Regions from separate parts of the Homo sapiens genome. Here all the other regions are linked to region 2. The links are contacts of gene promoters, found by promoter capture Hi-C in blood cells and fetal thymus (Javierre and others, 2016). All regions are on one chromosome and are shown on one strand. The core of a region is centred on a gene start or on the middle of the fragment in contact, and the rest is flanking DNA. Distances in the headings are between cores, read along the strand shown.

Region 1 (4,967 bases), core at 2,468-4,967, 1.1 Mb before region 2:
CTGTGGGTGTTGGTTGAGCGCCTGCTGTGTGCAGGGCTGTGGTGGGTGTTGGTTGAGCGCCTGCTGCGTGCAGGGCTGTGGGTGTTGGTTGAGCCCCTGCTGAGTTCAGGGCTGTGGGCGTTGGTTGAGCACCTGCTGCGTGCAGGGCTGTGGGCGTTGGTTGAGCGCCTGCTGCGTGCAGGGCTGTGGGTGTTGGTTGAGCGCCTGCTGCGTGCAGGGCTATGGGTGTTGGTTGAGCCCCTGCTGAGTTCAGGGCTGTGGGCGTTGGTTGAGCGCCTGCTGCGTGCAGGGCTGTGGGTGTTGGTTGAGTGCCTGCTGCCTGGAGGGCTGTGCTGACCTGTCCCCTCCCTCCCTCTGGCCTGAGGTCACTGGCCGCTCTCTCCTGGAGCTGGGCCTGTCCCCCTGGCTGCTGCCTGGCCGGCCCCTCCCAGCCTGGCCCCCCCTAGCACGTGTCTGCCATGGCTCTGACCCTGGGCTGGGAGGATGGCCAGAGTGGCCTCTGTGGCTGAGGGTGAGTTTTACTGGCTGGTTGAAGAGATGCTACTCAGCTCTGGCAGGGCCACCAGGGCTTCAGTCCTGTGGGTAGGACTGGGTGGGCAGGGGCCTTCCTGGTTCCCCACCTGGGAGCACAGGCCTCAGTGGTCCCGGGTCGCCCGCAGATGTGGATGAGTGCGCCTCCAGCCGTGGCGGCTGCGAGCACCACTGCACCAACCTGGCCGGCTCCTTCCAGTGCTCCTGCGAGGCCGGCTACCGGCTGCACGAGGACCGTAGGGGCTGCAGCCGTGAGTCTCCCGCCCTCCGCGGAGCACCGGCCTCTGCCTTCTCGAGTTTGCCCCAGCTGACCCTGCGTCCCGCAGGCCTGGCCCACCCCACCCCCACCTGCCTGGGGTCCTTTGCCCCCTGGCCTCTCTGGGCCAACACACCTCAGAGGCTCTTGGGCCCTTGGGGACCCACTGAGGTCCTGCCTCTTCTGAGGGCCGTGTGGGGGTTGGGGACAGTGGGGTGGGGGAAGCTGGTGAGACAGGCATCCTCCCGGAGCCCAGCACCTGTCCTGACCACGTGAGAGAAGGGACCAAGACCTAAGGTGATGTTGTCCCTGGGACTGATGGCAGCTGCTCCCACCCCTACCCCTCTAGGCCCCAGAGTCCCTAGAGTTGGGATGAGGCTGGGGGCAGAGGGGCCGGGTTCAGGTCCTCAGGGCCCAGAGCCTTCTCTTTCCTGAGAAGGAGGGTCGGGTGCAGCTGGGATGACCCCTGGGACCAGGCTGAGGAGGTGGGGGTAGTGGAGGCAGTAGGAGGGTGGTGGGGTTCCCTGGGGTGGGGCTTAGGCCCAGCCCTACCCGCCGGGGGGTCGCTGGAGCAGGCAGGTGGGTGGCAGGGGCTAAGGCGCCTCTGTGCCCCTGGCAGCCCTGGAGGAGCCGATGGTGGACCTGGACGGCGAGCTGCCTTTCGTGCGGCCCCTGCCCCACATTGCCGTGCTCCAGGACGAGCTGCCGCAACTCTTCCAGGATGACGACGTCGGGGCCGATGAGGAAGAGGCAGAGTTGCGGGGCGAACACACGCTCACAGAGAAGTTTGGTGAGCGCGGGCCCAGCCCCCGGGGGCTCCTGCTCGCAGGGCCAGCAGCCAGCGACCCCTCGGGCTAGGCTGCCATCCAATCAGAGGCTGGGGACGTGAGGAAGGACCCCTGCAATGCCATGTTAGACCAAGGCCCAGAGAGGGTGAGCCACTGGCTCAGTTTGCGCAGCTCGTGCGGGCTGAGCCGGGCGGGACCGGGCTCACAGCTTCCAGGTTAGGGCTCCTTCTGGCCCCAGCATCTGTCCCCATGTCACCCTTTGGGGGCCCTCATGGGCCGAGGATGCCCCTTATGCCCCTTCCCTGGCCTGAGGGTCTGAGCCGGGCCTCTGTGCCTGCTGAGGCCAGGGGTCAGGCTCTGAATCCCCCCATCCTGGTCTGCCCCCAGTCTGCCTGGATGACTCCTTTGGCCATGACTGCAGCTTGACCTGTGATGACTGCAGGAACGGAGGGACCTGCCTCCTGGGCCTGGATGGCTGTGATTGCCCCGAGGGCTGGACTGGGCTCATCTGCAATGAGAGTGAGGCAGCTGGGCAGGGGCTGGGGGCTGGGAAGGGGCCTCTGAGCCCCAAGACCTGGGGACAGCCCTTTGAGCCCATTCAGTTTTACTCCTGCCTGCTGGCCCTGGGCAGGGGGCTCTGTGCAGAGCCATTCATTCATCCATTTGTTAATTCCTTTGATAAACATCCCCTGACTGTCCACTCTATGCCACGCACTGTTCCAGGCAGTAAGGATTCCCTGGGAACAAGCAAGTTAAAGTGTTTGTCCTTCCTAAATATCAGTCTTCACGGTCCAGCAACAAGCAAGCCAGCAAATAACTAAGACAGTGAGGGGTGTCTGCTGAAGGGCAGCCGGCAGGTGGGGTTCCTCTAGCTCAGATGGCCAGGGACCCGTCATAACTGTCAGTGAGGCTCTGCCTGTTTGAAAGAGCTGGTTCAGAAGGAGGAGACTCCTCTCTCTGCTGGTGTTCAGAGAGAGGAGTCAGTGATCAATTAGTGATGTCTGCCATGAGCATGGGCAGGGGTGATGTGGTACAAGTGCCATCATTTTATCTCTAGGCAACTGCTTCTAAACCCAAGCCTCCAACCCTAGGAAGGGGTCTCAGAGTGTCGTGCTGGCTGGTGACCCTGACGCTTCCCTGTCATTCTTTGTAGCTTGTCCTCCGGACACCTTTGGGAAGAACTGCAGCTTCTCCTGCAGCTGTCAGAATGGTGGGACCTGCGACTCTGTCACGGGGGCCTGCCGCTGCCCCCCGGGTGTCAGTGGAACTAACTGTGAGGATGGTGCGTGCAGCCTCTTCTGGTGCTTCTGGAATTACCCCTGGGCTGTAAGGGAAGTGGGAGACACCACCCCTCCACGTCCTCCTTGTCTCCTTCCTCCCACTGGAGCAGGGAAACTGCTACCAAACTTTTCCTAGACTCCCTTTCCTTCCTGCCTCCCTGTCTCCAGAGCTTTAGGCTGTGCTTGAGAGAGAATGAGGCCCTTGAATGAGAGGGGTATTGCTTTTTCACTGTTGCTAATTTTCCCAGGGCCTAACTGTAGCAGACGATAAGACTACAGAGCAGCACTTTTGGAATGGGTTCCCTTGAGAGGCAGTGAGGTCCCTGTTCCTGGAAGCATTCAAGTAGAGCTGGTGATGGCTGGGTGAGGTTTGCAGAAGGGATTACTTGGGGGCCAGTGGCTGCAAGGGATGATGTTGGCTCCCTTATTAACTCTGAAGTTTCAGCCTTTCTGGAGGAATTAGTCCAGAAAATGTTTCCCAGGTGGCTAAAGCTTCATCTTTAAGTCTTCAGACTTCATCATTTCTGCCTCTTTCGATGGAGAGTGCAGCTAACGTATCATAAACTTTCTGCCTTTGTGAGAGGAAGACAGCCAACCCTAGAACCTGTCCCCCAGGTGGCCCCGTGAGCTTTCCTGGCCGTATGTGCTGGGCTCTGCAGGGCTGGTTGCCTGGTGGTGGTGGGGACCCCAGGCAGCCACACAGGGCTTCCTACCTCTTCCCTGTCAGTGTGCCTCCCTTCCCCACTTTGTCTGCCCTTTCTATTCTACAGGGTGCTGGGGAACCCCCGTATTCATTCCTGGGTGCTGCACCCCTGGGATCGTGCTGTACCCTCCAGGCTGCCTGCAGCGTTGAGGGGTCACCTCCCCTTCTCCAGGCCTCCTCTTTCTGTCTCGGCTTCCGCCTGCCTCTCAGATGAGGATGTTTGTCTTTGGATTCAGGGCCAGCCTGGATAATGTAGGGCTACTATGGCAAGCACTGTTGCAAGAAATGCAACTGTGCCTAGTCTCCAGGTCCTGGGGACTAGGACGTGTATGTAGTTGTGGGGGTACCTTCAGCTGACTACCGCCTTCAGTAGGAGGAAGGACGTGGGGCAGGACCCAGCCAGAGAGAATTGTTTGGGGAAGAAAGGCGAGGACCTTTCTAGCTCTGGGGCCACCTGCGGCTTGGGCCTGGGACCTTGTCTACTGGGGCCACGTGTCCTTCCCGCTTTGAGGCTCTGAGATCAAGCTTAGTGACCACCAGGGGACAGAAGTCAGGCGGCTCCTGATGGGGGCCAGACTTTGGGGAGAGTGGGGCGTGAGCTTTGTGCATCTCTCCAGTGTGGGCCGAGGAATGTGCTCTTCCACCCGCCCTTGCCACAAACCCTGGGGGCAGGGGATGTAGGGGACAGACCAGCCAGGGCAGACGGCCACATCCGGAAGGCTCACCTAGTGCCCTGGCGGGGGCTGCTCCCAGCTCCTGTGCTGGGCCCTGGGCCCCCGCGCATCCTACCACATGGGGGGACCACATGTGGTAGGCTGGCTGCCACCAAGGTTCACATGGAGCCCCGCTGCCCCCAGGCTGCCCCAAGGGCTACTATGGCAAGCACTGTCGCAAGAAATGCAACTGTGCCAACCGGGGCCGGTGCCACCGCCTCTACGGGGCCTGCCTCTGCGACCCAGGGCTCTACGGCCGCTTCTGCCACCTCAGTGAGTCTCACTGCCCCTTCCAGTGTCCATGGTGGTGGCAGCGGGTGGAAGGGATGGTCCATGTCCTGTTACCTGTAGTCTGGGTTAGGATGAGGCTATCGGGGCCCAGCCAGGTCACCCACTGGGATGTAGGTCTGGGGTCCGCCATGAGTCTGTGGACTCCAAGCCACATCCTCTCGACTGTGACTGTGCTGGCATCCAGGGCGTCTGGGTGGATGGTCCCCAACCTTGTGCCTCCCAGCCTTGATGGGTGGTAGGGCTGCAGATGAGGGCAGGGCCAGGCCTTTTGCAGAAGCCTCCGGGGGATGAGGCCTATCTTGGCTTTTGGAGATTCCTGGCAGCAAGGCCAAGCTCTGAGTCCCTGGTGGGGTCACCCATCCCTGGGGTTCAGACACTCAGGGAAGGGGCGGTGGGCTGCAGGGG
Region 2 (4,384 bases), core at 75-2,574:
CCCAGGCCATGCCCCTTCCCTGTAAGAGGGGCCATTCCTGCAGTGTGGGGCTCTGGCTTTGTGACTGGGCTGTGCCAGTCTGGGGATGATCCCACAGCTGAGCTCCTGTAGATGGAACCAGAGGTGAGGCAAGGAACTGGAGGCCCTCCCCACTGAGGTCAGCGGGGCGCAGACGCCCCCTTGTCGTGCCCTGCCTTCCTCCTGCAATCCTGCAGGACTCTCCAGGGCCAAGTGCTGCCCTTGGGGCCAAAAAACAGGGCCTTCTCCTTCACCTGCCCTGCAGCCATTCAGGTATGTACCAGGCATCTCCTGCCCTCCCTGGCCAGGCGGCCCCAGAGGCACAGGCCGCAGACACCGCAGGCGACCTGCGTGGGCCTCCAGTTCCCGCCCCAGCCCTTCCCACCCCCAGCTCAGGGCAGGTCCAGCTGTGGCCAGCGGCTGGGGAAGGTTCTGTCCCCTCCAGGTGTGCGGCCTTGGCAAGTGCTTCAGGCCTCCCTCCGCTCGTCCCCTGGGAGCAGAGGGATCGGAGCGCCTGCGATGTGGTTCCCCAGAGCACCTGCGGGGCTCAGGCCAGGCAGGGTGGAGGGTGGAGGGTGGAAGGCCACCTTCCGCCCGTCCTGGAACCACGCGGCGGCTTCCCGGCTGCCCCCCACCCGCCAGGCCCTGCCTCCCGTGGGCACCAGGGGGGCGTCCACACCAAGCCGGCCGTGTGCTTTTCGCGCAGGATTACTGGGGAAGGCGGCTGCTCGGGGCCTGGAAGGTCCCGGGTCTCGCCTCGTGCCCCTCTGGCCCCCAAACCGACCGGCTCCCCGGAACTGGCCAACCCGCGCTGAGAGCCCGCGCAGCTCAAAGGGCGCGAGGGCGGGACCGCCGCGGCCGGCGCTGGGAGCTCGGCTTCCCGAAGACCCAAGCGAAAGCCTCCGTCTCCCCAGCCGTAAATGGGCCTGCAGCGTCTCCACTCCGCAGCGCTGTCCCCAGTGGGAGGGCGGCCCGTGGACGTGCAGGGAGCAGAGCAGGGGCCCCTGGCAGCGTAGGACCCCGAGGTCGCAGCAACCACGCGGCCGCGAGCCCATCCCGCTGCCTCGCCAGCGCCCCTCGCGCGTGCCCCGCCCCCACCTCGGCTCGCGGGCCCCGCCCCGCTCCGCTCCGCCCTGCGCCTCCGACTACCTTCCCGCTGCCCCGCCCCGCGCTGCGCTGGTTCGGACTCCAGCCCCGCTTCCGCCCGGGCCCTGGCCCCGCCTCCAGCCCCAGTCCGGCCCCGCCCCAGCACCTTGACGCAGAGGTCTGCGCCGCACGCAGAGCCACGTCGTGCCGTCATCAGTTCTCGCCCGTCTGGGCGTGGGCGTGGCCGGCGTGGCTGCTCGGGACCACCCGAACCCGCGGCCATGGCCCCGGCCGCCGCCAGCCCCCCGGAGGTGATCCGCGCGGCGCAGAAGGACGAGTACTACCGCGGTGGGCTGCGGAGCGCGGCGGGCGGCGCCCTGCACAGCCTGGCGGGTGAGGGCCGGGCGCGGCCGGACGTCCTCGCGAGCGGCCCAGGGGGTGTTGCCCCTCATGGAGGCGGGGTGTCTGCCGTGTGTGGTCACGGTCGCCTGGGCCCGTCCCACAACCTGGGACCCGGCAGTCTCCTTCGCCTGCCCTGCGGCCATTCAGGGATGTGCGGGGCACCTCCTGCCCTCCCTGGCCAGGTGGCCCCAGAGGCACAGGCCGCAGACACCGCGGGGGACCTGCGTGGGCCTCCAGTTCCCGCCCAAGCCCTTCCCGTCCCCAGCTCAGGGCAGGTCCAGCTGACGCCAGCGGCTGGGGAAGACTCTGTCCCCTCCAGGTGTGAGGCCTTGGCAAGTGCTTCAAGCCTCCCTCCGATCCTCCCCTGTGAGCAGAGGGGTCAGAGCGCCCGCGGCGCGAACGCCTCATACCTCGGTCCGGTTCACACTGACCCCGGCCTTTCCTAGGCCTGAGCAGCAGCCCAGGCCCCTCGCCCTGCTGACCCCAGTGTAGGCTCAGCCAGGCCCTGCCTGCCTCACCAGGCCGGGAGCTGAGTACAGAAGCCAGTGTACTCAATGAAGCAGCACCTGTCATCCCAGCAGTTTGGGAGGCAGAGGCGGGAGGATCGCTTGAGCCCAGGAGTTTGAAACCAGCCTGGGCAACATGGCAAGACCCCGTCTCTACAAAAAATCTGAAAATTAGCCGGACGTGGTGGCGGCGTCTGTAATCCCAGCTCTTCAGGAGGCTGAGGCAAGAGAATCGCCTGAGCCCGAGGGATGAGGCTGCAGTGAGCCATGATTGTGCCGCTGCACTCCAGCCTGGGCGACGGGGCCAGACCCCATCACCGATTAAAAAACGAAAAAAAAAAGATGCCGGGTGTGGTGGCTCACGCCTGTAATCCCAGCACTTTGGGAGGCCGAGGCGGGTGGATCACTTGAGGTCAGGAGTTCGAGACCAGTCTACACAACATGGTGAAACCCCGTCTCTACTAAAAATACAAAAATCAGCAGGGCGTGGTGGCGCGTGCGTGTAATCCCAGCTACTTGGGAGGCTGAGACAGAATCACTTGAACCCGGGAGGCGGAGGTTGCAGTAAGCCAAGATCGTGCCACTGCACTCCAGTCTGGGCAACAGAGTGAGACTCCATCTCAAAAAAAAAAAAAAAAAAAAAAAGGCAAAGCCATCAAGTCTTTGGGGGGTGGGGCAGGCAGTCGTTAAAGGCATGAACTCCCAGCAGAACGTTTCAGGGAGCAGTGGCACTAGAGCCCAGTGGTGGGGGTGTCGTGGCCAAAGGAACAGTGCCATGGGACAGGAAGAGCATGGGTAAATATCAGAGGACAGCCAGGCTCCGTGCCGGGAGGCCCATGGGTGTCAGGTGGGCAGCCATTGGTGGATTCTGAACAGGAGAGTGACATGATGAGAATTTTTTGTGTGTGTACTTACTTGTTTTACAGTACACTTGGCACTTACCCCTGTGCCAGACACTGTTCCCAGTGTTTTACAAATATTGAATCTTCAAACATCCCTCCAAGTAGGACTTATTACTCTTCTGATAGATGAGCAAATTGAGATTCCAGAAAGACCTCACAGCCAGCAAGTTGGAGAGCTGCTTTTTGATGCTAGACAGTTGGCCTCTGGCCTGTAATCTTAATACCCCAGACCATCTTTCCATGTGGCCCTCATAGGCCCTAGAACAGTTGCTCAGGGGAATCCCGGAGCAAGAGATGAGCACAGGTGGGAGATTCTTCGCAGACTGTCTGCAGCTCACGCTAAGGCAAGTCAAGGTGGTGCCTCCGGAGACAGAAGCAGAGAGGGAGGCCAGGGAGTGAGTGTTGGCTTCATGGAAGGGGTGGGACTGGATCTGGGCCTAGACAACTGGGGGAGGACTGTGGTCCCTCATCCTCAGAGGATGCCCACCAGCTCCCCCGGACTAATACTGTTTCTCCTCTCAGGTGCGAGGAAGTGGCTGGAGTGGAGGAAGGAGGTTGAGCTGCTCTCAGATGTGGCCTACTTTGGCCTCACCACACTTGCAGGTAGAAGCTCCCACGGGACCTCAGGACTGAGGGCAGCCACACACACCAAGTCTGGGGACGGTGGCCAGGGGGCTGCCAGGCAGTGTGAGAAGCTCCTGGAGCTGGCCCGGGTGAGGTTGCTTCAGGGAAGTGCAGGAGGTACTGCTCCGAGGGAGGCGAGGCATCTGCTCCCAGCAGGGAGCCGACTTTTCCAGCCTTTGTGTGTCCCTGGGGTTCTTTGTTTAAGACTTTACCCCGGGTGCCACTGAGACCCATTTCTCAGTGGCCAGCCCTGGTGGCACCAGTGAGTCACAGTGCTGAGCCATGTCATAGGGTGCAGTGCCCGTGTGACAGTGCCCTGGTGGAGCAGTGGTGGGTCTGTGGCCCAGGCTGGTCACCACCCTTTAGAGGGAGTTGTTGACAGAAGCTCTCAGGCTCCCAACCCCAGCTCAGCATGTAGCAAGGACCACCGAGTGCCAGCCTGGTTCCCTACGAGGGGCTCGCCCCGGGCATCCTGCCGCCATGGAGAGTGTGCTCGGTGGGCGGGAGACAGATGTGGCTGCGTCACAGAGCATCTTGGGAAGTGAGGGGCTCTCAGAGATAAAGACCACGTCTTAGGGAAGAGCATTTTCCAGACCGGCAGAGCAAGCAGCCGGGAAAGGCCCTGAGAAGAACACGTCCTTGGCGGTTTGGGAGAATGACCCCGGGGGGCTCGTGAGTTTTGTAAGCCCATAGCTTTCCCTGTGCGAGGCTTGGGGCATTCCAGGGACGTGGGCAGGGGAGAGGCCGACCACTAGCTAAGACCAGACCTCAGGGGACAAAGTTGGGCTCAGGGAGACTACAGAGGCTGTGACAGTCCCCCACAGGATGGTGGTGGTACAGAGCAGG
Region 3 (4,537 bases), core at 123-2,622, 1.0 Mb before region 2:
TGAGGATTCATCAATGGCATATGTATACACATGTATACAAACGTGCATCTCTGTGTGCATATGTGCATGTGAATGTGTACATGTACACGGGGCATACCTATGTGTGCATGTGTGTGCGTGCATGTGTACACATGTGTATGTGTGTACATGTGTGTATAAAGGTGCAGCATTTTGGTTTGGAAATCTTTAGTGCCTCAGATTAAATCAAAATGTCCTTGAGTGTCAGCGGCACAGCTGAACTTGTGCCCGGCTCGGTCACCTGGCTAGTGTTTTGCACACACATATGTTAACAGTGAGGTCATAAGCCCAGGGGTGCTTACTCTCATGACTCTCCAGGTGGAGGAACTGAGGCAGACAGCGCAGCTTCCCCAGGTTCCCAGAGCCCAGGGGCCTCACCCTCTGTGGTGAGGCCCCCACTGCGCCTATCTGGATGTGTTAGGGGCTGGTGCTGGGGTGGAGGTGCATGTCCTCTGAGGGTGGCCACGCAGGGCTGTTGGCCGGGTCCAGACTTTCCCCAGCCCGCGATAGTTTTCTTACCGTTTCTCTGTTCGCGTTGATGCTTGGTTCATCTCACTATTGGCAATAAAGTTTCTGATTTCCGAGAAATAAGAGTCTTCTTTCTCGTCTAAAAGTGCGTGGTTGTCCGACTCTGAGGTGGGAGAGGACGCGCTGGTCCCCAGGTGGTTCGTGAGGACCCCGGGGTGCTGGCTCACTGCGGAGGGGCGGGAGCATCAGGGGGCGGCCTCTCGCTGGACCCCTCCCTCCGTGGGGCAAACCAACCGCGAACGGGGTACACCTGGGGTGCTGTTAGGGAGGCAGGTTTCTTAGGGACACCGGAGAGCACGAGGTTCTCTTTAATGACCACGGTTTGAGGGGTGCCTGTTGGCTTCCTGAGGGGTAGTCTGTGGCCCTCTTCCCTGCCCGGCGCCCACTCCCCTGCTGTTCCCCCTCCCCCTCTGTGGGGCCTGCCCGTGTGGGTGCTCTGGGGGCTGCCCCACCCCGCGTGGCCCACCTGGTGCGTTCTCGTGCTCGTGCTTCTTGAGGTGCCGGTCCAGGTTGGTCTGCTGCCCGAAGCAGCGGTTGCACAGGTGGCACTTGAAAGGCTTCTCCTTGTTGTGGATGTTCCGGACGTGCCGCTGGAGGTTCGAAGAGATGCTGAAGGAGCGGTCGCAGTACTTACACCTGGAAGGGGCACACGCGCTCCTCAGTGCAGGCCCCGGCTCTGCATGGCAGGCCGGGCCACAGAGGGTGGGGGGAAGGGAGCCCGCGCCCCTGCCCCGTGCCCCGTGCACAGCTTTGCCCCGCCGTGTCCCGGAGGTTGCTGGATCTCCCAGCTGCAGAGCCAAAGGCATCCTGGGGAAGCTGTCCCTAGAAACAGCCCCGGCTTCAAGAAGCAGGGGTTCACGCCTATAATCACAGCACTTTGGGAGGCCAAGGCGGGTGGATCACGAGGTCAGGAGATCGAGACCATCCTGGCTGACATGGTGAAACCCCGTCTCTACTAAAAATACAAAAAAATCAGCCAGTCGTGGTGGTGGGCGCCTGTAGTCCCAGCTACTCTGGAGGCTGAGGCAGGAGAATGGCGTGAACCCGGGAGGCGGAGCTTGCAGTGAGCCAAGATCACGCCACCGCACTCCAGCCTGGGCGACAGAGCGAGACTCCATCTCAAAAAAAAAAAAAAAAAAAAGCAAGCAGGCGTTCACCCTCCTACTGTTCTGTGGCTGGCTGGTGGATCCCCCTGGAGTGTGCCCCGTGTCCCCTGGGCAGGCGGTGCGCCCGACCCTCCGGCGTCTCCTGCCCTCTGTTGTCTGGGTCTCCCTGGCCCCCAGGCCGCGGGGCCGGCAGGTCTGCAGCCGGAGGGCGACATGCTCCTTGCAGCCTCCAGAGGGCGGCCTTGCTCCATGGAAAGACACTCGGCAAGGCCAGTTTCCCAGCCGGAGGGGCTCCACAGACCAGCTCCCAGACCAGCTCCCTGTGACCTTCCTCCTCCACCCCTCGAGGTGGCTGGGGGCCCCTGGGCAGGCCCCACCTCACTTGGAGCCTCAGTTTGCCAGTCCATTCATGGAGGGCTTGGGGGCTGCCCTGGATGTTGCCACTTGTTGGCTGCCTCCTCTATTAAGGACACAAAGACCACACTGGCCCCTTTGGGCACTGCCAGCTCCCGGGCTCGGTTTATCTTTATTCCCCCAGGGTGGGCAGGGCTGCTGCCGGCCTGCACCGTGCACGTGGGGAAGTTGGGATGAGACCCCCTTCCTCCATCTGGCCTCCACGGCATCAGGCAGAGCAGGACTCTAACACCCTGAGTTTATCAGAGCAAGGCCCCTTGCGGCTGGAAAGTCGTCATAATGAGCGATCGAGGAGGGCTGCGTGTGGAGGGTTCCCCTCAGTGTGGGGCCCTTGGGCTGGGAGTGACCTTCACAGCCACACGTGGTGACCCTGCAGGCAGGGAAAGGGAGGGTTGTTCTCTCCCATTTTTAGAGAGCGGGGCTGAGAACTAGGGGGCCTGAGCGACATGTGCATTGAGCAGCAAGAAAATCATGCCTGAAACGAAGAGGGGGAGCTGGGGATGAGCTAAGGAGGAACCCCATGAGCTCTGTAGATGCACGTGCGCTGCCTCTGTGAAGACAGCCTCCTCCCTGGGGGGCATCCGGCGGGGGGCTGGGACTGGCTTACTGAGAGGCACCCGGCTGGGCTGGGCGACGGTGAAGGGAACCCTGACTGCATGGTTTTCAGTTGCACGTGGGTGCTTGGCATGTGCGTGTGTGCCATGCCTGTGTGTGCACACTTGTGTGTGCTCTTGGTCATCAGAACGCCCGCAGCGGTGCTCATCTGATCCCACAGGCACACACGCACTTGAACATTCTGTTTATATGATCATGCGTTTTCATATTTTGAAAACAAAGCAAGCTCCATGATGCCCATGGCACAGCACACAGAAAGTCTACCCACTGCAGCAGGATCCTGGCCGGGGGGGCCTGGTAGCAGCTGGAGACCAGGCCAGGGCCTCTGTGGGAGCCTCTGTGGAGGCACCAGGATGGGGCAGGGTTTGTTCACCCGGAGTGGGTGTGGCTGTTCTAAGCACAGTGGCCTTCGTTCCCACAGAGGACAGGACTCCGAGAGGCCCCACCCCGCCCCGACCGGTGCCGGTGGCCCGCTCCAGAGCAGCATACTGGTCACATGCCCTTGTCACATGGATGGGGACGTGCCTGGTGACACTCGGGAGTCCTGGCCTCCCAGACCGGGAGGGGCTGTGTGGCTCGGCCTTCTCGGCACGGTGCTGCCCTGTACAGGAGGGGCCTGGGCTGGTGTTTGCTATCACAAAAGCCTGGCGAGGGAGTCTGACCTGCCATCAACACACCCGCAGGGGCCTCCCCAAGGCAGGAAGCTTCAGTCCCACACCTTCCGGGTGCTGCTGCCGGGCCCAGGAGCTCAGCATTCCCCACGTGCAGGGGCTGCGGCCGTGAGAAACTGTCCTTGGAATCTCAGAGCCTGCGAGTCTCCCCCAACTCCCCAGGCTGCCTGGTAAAACCTAGCAAGTCTGAAAATGGGTCCCCTAGAGAACGGGAGGCAGTCCTGGGAGAAGGGCACTCCTCTCCCACGCCTGGCCGAGGCATATCCCCATCCCACTTCGTCCCAGCAAACTTCCCTGGTGCTGCCCTAAGGCTTCATCCACTCAATTCCTGAACCTTCCAACCTTTGCCGGAGGCCAGGCTCACTCTGGCCTCTTCAACAGTAGACAGGAAAAGAAGCATTGGTGATCGAAGTCCCTGAGCTCCCCGAAGTGACCCTCAGCCTTCTCTGCTCCTGATCCCAGGGGCCTGGCCTGTGGGCTTCTTCTCTGGGAGCCCCTGCTCCTGCCCGGGTCAGCTGAGCTGCCTCCGGGCACCCGGGTCCCAGCGTCTCCTCCCACAGCCCAGTGACAGGCAGCGCCCTGGCTTGGACTGGCCATCCACAAAGCCTGCCCTGGGCGGCGCTGCAGTTTTGTTTGACTCGGCCTGTGAACTCACACAAGAATAAGGCCGAGGATGGAGCCCTTTCGGCAGCAGGGTTGGAGATGCTTGGGTGCCCCCCTACCCGACGTGTCCCACACAATCTCCCAGAAAGGAGGGATTTTACACCCTCCAATGCATTTTCTCACATCCCCCACCCTGACACATCCTTAGACTGGAATGGTGGTGCCTGGCCCTGGGACCGCCATGCTTTTGAGGCTGACTGACTGCTGAGAAAGGACACACTGGACTCTGCGTCTCCAGCCCGGATGCAAAGCACCTGCCAGTCTGAGCATTCAGGCTCTGCCCAGCCAGAGGCTTCCCACCCAGCTGGGGCCATGTGCCCCTCTGGCATGTTGAGGCAGCCCAATCTGTCTGCCTGCCTGACTGTCTGTCTGCCTGCCAGTCTGCCTGCTTGCCAGTCTGTCTATCTGCCTTCCTGCCTGTCCATCTGCTTGTCTGTCTGCCTGTCTGTCTGCCTGCCTGTCTGTCCATCTGTCTGTCCACCTGCCTGTCTGTCTGCCTTCTTGCCTGTCTGCCCTGCCTGT

What was found. Contacts are between HindIII fragments. The CHiCAGO score rates a contact against its expected background, and 5 or more counts as called.
Region 1: a fragment that was not itself captured here is called in contact with the fragment with the promoter of PEX10 in region 2 in 1 of 17 cell types (endothelial precursors); the score reaches 6.3 in endothelial precursors.
Region 3: a contact is called between a fragment that was not itself captured here and the fragment with the promoter of PEX10 in region 2, in 2 of 17 cell types (endothelial precursors and M0 macrophages). The highest score is 9.4, in endothelial precursors.

Annotation. Positions count from the first base shown.
Region 1 is chr1:3,505,685-3,510,651 of GRCh38, reverse strand. It overlaps MEGF6 (multiple EGF like domains 6), which reads left to right. Exons shown (of 37, transcript NM_001409.4): 11 at 660-782; 12 at 1,407-1,577; 13 at 1,963-2,094; 14 at 2,729-2,857; 15 at 4,416-4,544. Among named protein-coding and RNA genes, the nearest start is that of MIR551A, 53 kb to the left of the region's middle. The HindIII fragment of the contact is 736 bases long and covers 3,350-4,085 here.
Region 2 is chr1:2,409,504-2,413,887 of GRCh38, reverse strand. It overlaps PEX10 (peroxisomal biogenesis factor 10), which reads left to right and starts at 1,324. Exons shown (of 6, transcript NM_002617.4): 1 at 1,324-1,497; 2 at 3,437-3,517. The coding sequence starts at 1,386. RefSeq lists enhancers at 355-934, 935-1,515, 1,516-2,096, 2,097-2,677 and silencers at 599-1,198, 1,359-1,738. The HindIII fragment of the contact is 16,041 bases long and covers 1-4,384 here.
Region 3 is chr1:3,422,226-3,426,762 of GRCh38, reverse strand. It overlaps PRDM16 (PR/SET domain 16), which reads right to left. Exons shown (of 17, transcript NM_022114.4): 13 at 1,013-1,182; 14 at 538-712. Among named protein-coding and RNA genes, the nearest start is that of ARHGEF16, 30 kb to the left of the region's middle. The HindIII fragment of the contact is 4,030 bases long and covers 1-3,387 here.